Regions from separate parts of the Homo sapiens genome. Here region 2 is linked to region 1. The links are contacts of gene promoters, found by promoter capture Hi-C in blood cells and fetal thymus (Javierre and others, 2016). All regions are on one chromosome and are shown on one strand. The core of a region is centred on a gene start or on the middle of the fragment in contact, and the rest is flanking DNA. Distances in the headings are between cores, read along the strand shown. Region 1 holds the start of PLEKHM2 (pleckstrin homology and RUN domain containing M2). Region 2 overlaps ZBTB17 (zinc finger and BTB domain containing 17).

What was found. The method cuts DNA at HindIII sites, captures the fragments that hold promoters and counts their contacts. A CHiCAGO score of 5 or more calls a contact.
Region 2: a fragment that was not itself captured here is called in contact with the fragment with the promoter of PLEKHM2 in region 1 in 1 of 17 cell types (monocytes); the score reaches 5.8 in monocytes.

What each region holds. Positions count from the first base shown.
Region 1 is chr1:15,682,914-15,685,613 of GRCh38, forward strand. It overlaps PLEKHM2 (pleckstrin homology and RUN domain containing M2), which reads left to right and starts at 1,407. Exons shown (of 20, transcript NM_015164.4): 1 at 1,407-1,705. The coding sequence starts at 1,646. RefSeq lists silencers at 1,261-1,340, 1,431-1,510, 2,031-2,100 and an enhancer at 2,331-2,390. The HindIII fragment of the contact is 15,543 bases long and covers 1-2,700 here.
Region 2 is chr1:15,951,729-15,954,428 of GRCh38, forward strand. The region is part of intron 2 of ZBTB17 (zinc finger and BTB domain containing 17); the gene reads right to left. LOC124903855 (a long non-coding RNA gene) reads left to right here. Exons shown (of 3, transcript XR_007065486.1): 2 at 542-1,317; 3 at 1,833-2,700. Among named protein-coding and RNA genes, the nearest start is that of ZBTB17, 23 kb to the right of the region's middle. RefSeq lists an enhancer at 668-1,867. The HindIII fragment of the contact is 1,463 bases long and covers 576-2,038 here.

The DNA.
Region 1 (2,700 bases), core at 157-2,656:
GAGAGCCAGGTAGGAGACTGACACCTCTAAGTGCAGGGGCTTTATGAGATGGTGGATTTGAGGAGGGTGTGTGGGAAGAGAGTTGTTACGGTGGGTTTCAGGGGCTGAGGGAGTTGAGGCCCTTGGGATACGTGGGGCTGAAGAAGAGGGATAAGGATAAGGAGTGGGAATGGGGCATTGGGGCTGAAGGTGAGGAGGGTGTGTTTTGGGGGTGGGGAGGAACACCAGGGACCTCAAATGTAGGACTGGGCCTTGAGGGTGAGGCACTGAGGAGGGGAGGCTGTGGAGGGCCAGGGGGCCCAGGGAGGGTCTAGGGCTGGGGACTGGAGTCTAGGCTGACCCGGTGGGGGTGCTGGGTCCTCCAGGCTGCGAAAGCCAGGGGGCCTGGGTCTGCACATTGAGGGGGTGGCTGGGCTAAGGAAGGGGAGGAAGATAAGTGGGGCTTGCAGGCTAAGAGGGTCTTGGGGTCCCTGGCCAGAGTTAGTGGGGTGCACTGGGGTCTCCAAGGAGGGGTCTGTGGACTAAAGAGGGCCGGCGGGAGGGGGCCCAGGGTCTGTGGGTGTCTCGAGTCTCTGAGGAGGGCCGGGGTCTCAGGGTCTGTGGGGGTCTCTGGCCTGTGGGGTCGGAGTCTCCAGAGTCCTTGGGGCCTGTGGGAGTCTCTGGGGTTTTGTGGGGGGATCCTGTGGGCTGAGGAGGGCTGTGGGGAGGGTCTCAGGGTCTCTGGGGAGGGCCAGTGCCTCGGGGTCTTTGGGGGTCTCTGAGGAGGGCTGGGGGCCCAGGGTCTGTGGGGGTCCCCAGCAGGTGGGGTTGGGGTCTCCGGAGTCCCTGGAGTCTGAGGGTGTCTCTGAGGTCCCAGGGGGGAGTCTATGGCCTGAGGGCTGAGGGGGAGGGTCTCCAGGGTCTCTGAGGAGGGCCGGTGTCCCGGGCAGGCGGGGTCGGGGTCTCCGGAGTTCCTGGGGTCTGAGGGTGTCTCTGGGGTCCCTGAGGGAATCTGTGGGCTGACGAGGCCTGGGGGAGGGTCTCCGAGGAGGGCCGGGGTCCCAGGGTCTGTGGGGGTCTCTGGCAGGCGGGGTCGGGGTGTCCGGAGTCCCTGGGGTCTGAGGGTGTCTCTGGGGTCCCTGAAGGAATCTGTGGGCTGAGGAGGGCTTGGGGAGGGTCTCTGAGGAGCCCCGAGGTCCCCGGCAGGCGGGGTCGAGGTCTCTGGCGTCCCTGGGGTCTGAGGGTGTCTCTGGGGTGCCGGGGAGAGTCTGTGACTTGAGGAGGGCTGGGGGCGGGTCTCGGGGTCTCTGGGGAGGGCCGCGGCCAAGGGTCTGTGCGGGTCTCCGGGTCCCCGGAGTCCCCAGGCGCAGGCGGGCCCTGGCGCCGCCCCGCCTGACATCAGTTCCTGCCGCCGCCGCCGCCGCGGCGCACAGCCCGCGGCCTCCTTCCCCGCCGGCCGCGCTCCGGAGCCTCCGGGCCGCGGTGGAGCGAGGGCCCAGGCGAGGCGAGGGCCGGGCGGCGGGCGCCGGGCCCCGCGGCCGGCACGACGGAGCCCCCGTACGGCCGGCGGCAGCGGTTGGCGGCGGCCCCCGGCCCCCGGCGCGGGAAGCGGCGGCGGGGCGGCGGCGGCGGTGGCGGTGGCGGTGGCGGCGACGGTGGCAGCGCCATGGAGCCGGGGGAGGTGAAGGACCGGATCCTGGAGAACATCTCGCTGTCGGTGAAGAAGGTGAGCGCGGCCTCCCTCCCGGCCGGGGCCCCTTCCTCGCCGCGCCCCCCACGCCCTCCGGCGGCGCTCTCCCGGGCCGGGGCCCCCCGCCCTTCCCCTCCGCGACCCGGGGGGCGACGAGCGGCCGGGAGCCCCGGGCCGGTAGAGGGGAAGCGGCGCCGCTCACGTGAGCGCCGCGGCCTCGGAGCTATTTTTAAAGAACAAAGTTGAGGTCAGCATCCTCGGAGCTTCCCCAAACCTGGCCCGGGGCCCTGCCCTCCCGGAGAGGGGTCAGCGACCCTCCGGTCCCCCACTGGGGCAGCGGCGCCCCCGGGAGCTCCTGAAGGAACCCCATGCAGCCTCCTGTGGAATCCGCTGCATCCCCGGGTCCCCCCGCCAGGCTGGCGTCGCCCAGGGTCTGGCAGTCAGGGTGGAGGCCAGTGATAAGCAACTTCACTTTCCCATGGCCTGGGTCCCGGCGACATTGCCTCTGCTCCTGGGAAGTCCCCTGAATAATCTTGCTCAAGGATGGTAGCTTTGAAGAGGTTCACTAGGGGCTTTGATTATAAGAACCTGAAGTACATGGGGATTGCATTTTGGATGCTGATCCGGGGAACCGGGTGACACCACAGACACCTTGCTGTGGGGCTTGCCGCAGTAAACATCACTGTCCCAATTCCAGGTAGAAATGAGTACATACCTGTCAAGGGCATGTATTTGTGATGAAGTTGGCATATCCGCAAAAGGGTCCGTGCTAGAAGGTAGAATCCATATTCTGACGTTTTTGGGCTGGATATAAAAATAATAATAATAAATTTAAAAGAATCCATATTCACTGAAAACCTAAATGGCCAAATCAGAATGGATTTTTCTCTCTCTCTCCCTCTCTGTGTGTGTGTTTGTGTAATTTGAATTCCTGGCTCACCAGATAGTCTCAGAAACTGAAAAAAAAAAAAAAAAAAAGAAAGAAAGAAAGAAAAAAGAGAAAGAAAATGGCTTGGGTGAGGGACTCAGCA
Region 2 (2,700 bases), core at 57-2,556, 270 kb after region 1:
ATCTATTCCTCAGCGACAGGAACCCAGCAGGACGGCCAGGCTTGGAGGGACATAGGAAAAGGGTTTGGGAGCGAAGGGGTGTGCAGGTCCTAGGAACATATCCCCTCCTAAGTACGTGCTAGGAGGTGCTGTCTGGGGAGACGTTAACCACAGTAATCAGATCAACAGCCAGCTGCTCCCCATCGCCCCCAGATGTGCGGGAACACAGGGTGAAGAAATACTGTTCCCACCAGGCAGCCTGCCCCACCCCACCCTTGGAATACGGTGCCCATCGCTCAAGCACAAGTGTCAAGGTCTGTGGTCTTGTCTTCACCTTGCGTGATGGGCGATAAATATGTGCACTAGTTAAAGCAACTTCTAAGGAAGATCCTAAAACCTTAGAACCATAGAAAATGCCAACAGAACGAGACCACAGAGCCCAGCAGCCCAGAGTCCTCATTTTAGATGCAGACTGACCTGACCCCCACTCACAAAGTCTTAGCTGCAATCGGGCACCTTTTCCCAACACCTCTAGTCACTCAGTTTTTCTCCCTCACCTCAGGTGTCAGAGCTGGGATGCTGTCCTGATGACCAAAAGCTTAGGTGGACACAGAGCCCTGGGCTCCCTCACGAGGAATTCACTGGGGAACAAAAAAGTGAGGCACTGAGGACACCTGCAGTGTGAGTCCGGACAGGCACACTGACACAGCGGAACAGACGCGGCAGAACCGACACGGCGGAACGGACGCGGATGATGCAGAGCCCCTCTCAGGATGGCCAGCCATTCCTCCCCTGCCAGGGCCCACCACGCCTCCCATGGAGAGACGGTGTCTGTTTCCCTCCTGTCGGAATCTGGATGGCCCAGAGACGACTCTGACATCAGGATGCTGGGACTGTGCCAATTCCAGACCTAAACCTAAAGAAGCCTGGAAGATTCTGCTGTGGCTCCTGGGAATCCAGTCACCGAGCTGGAGGAAAGTCCAAGCTCCCGTGTGAGTGGGAGACACATGGAGGGGCTCTGGGGAGAGGGCACATGGAGAAGAGCAGAGAGGCCACTGACAGCACCAATGCTCTGTGGCGAGGGACACACTTTCCTGGACCTCCCAGCCCAGCTGTGCGCTGCTGCACGCACGGCCTCAACCAACACCTCGGGGAGCAAGCGACTGCCTGTCCACCCATCCAACTAAGAAAGACTGACTCACCGATGACTTATGCCACTGGGTTTTGGGGTGCTGTGCTGTGCAGCAGGAGATAACTGAGACGGACGGTAAAACCAGGAAGAAAAGGAAGTGATTCAGCCAAAGGTTCAGGATGACGGTTCTCTCTGGATGGGGGAGGGTAAGCAGGGGACTTCTGAGATCCTAGAAGAGTTCTCTTTCTTTACTTGGAGTCCCCTGGATTTATTACTTAAACTAAATGTGTATATTTCATATACATTTACATGAAAACATTCCAATTATTTAAAAAAATGTATTTTTTTTTTTTTGTAGAAGCAGGATTTCACCATGTTGCCCAGGCTGGTCTCAAACTCCTGGGCTCAAGCAATCTGCCTACCTTGGCCTTCTAAAGTGCTGGGATTACAGGCGTGTGCTACTGCACCCAGCCATTTTTCAAAAATTTTAATAAGAAAAAAGTGAGGTTCAGTTGCCAGACTTGATCCAGTCATGGCACAGAGTGTGCTGGCCAAGGCTGGGTTGCTCCCAACCACACTCCCGGCCATGCTCACCAGGGCTGCCTTGAGGCCCAGCGTGGCAGCGAGGGTCAGAGGAGCTAAGAGAGCCGCCAAGGCTCCTGCGGGTGGGATTTGGAAGGGCTGGCCCCAGAAAGCACAACCCATTGCATCTGTCTTGCAGTCCCAAAGCACCACAGACTGCTGAGTAAGCCAGGTTTCTGTTTGGGCCGTGAAATCCACTCTGGTGCCAAGTTCCATACTGCTGCCTCCACGACGCAGGGATTCCAGTGGCGGCTGAGCCCCATGGAAGCAGCAGAGCCTCCCGGGACAGGCCAAGCAGGACCTGGATCTGGGTTCCACCAGCCACCCGCAGGTGATCTCCAGCAAAGCTTCTCCAATGGCCAACAGGGCTAATGGTATGACTTCCTTTGTGACAGGATTAAATTAAGTAACATAGGTCAAGACCCTGTACAGAGCCTGGCATATCGTGAGCATGCAACAAACTACTGTTGCCAGGAAGCAGAGATGCAGATGATAGTTTCATTTTTTTAGGCCAAAGTCTTTATCAGATGGTTTCTATATACCCCTTTGCACTGGGCACATGGGGTACTTGACCTTGTTAAGAGGTGTAATCATAACCCATCACTCCTAAATGCAATCTGGAAGAATTCCAGAGCACAATTAGCATGAAGACAGGGAGGAAGTGATGGGAGGGGCACTGAGTGGAGAGACATCTAGAGCTATTGTCTCTGCCAGGAGGCACTTTATATTGAACAACTGTTCTGTTAAACCCCAAGAGTGCTCCCAGACAAAGGCTGGAGTGCATGCCCAGAGTGCTAAGTGGCCCCAGAGAGCACAGCTCCATGTCAGAGTCAAATGGGCACCTGTCAAACATGAAATGTTACCCAGGTTATTAGTATGCACTAAACTACCTGCAGGGTTTCCAAACTGCCACAAAGGGAAGCCATTAAGCCAGGAAGCAACTGGCCTACCATAGGGAGACACTGATCTTTACAAACAACAGTCCCCGGCTCCCAGAACAAGCTGCT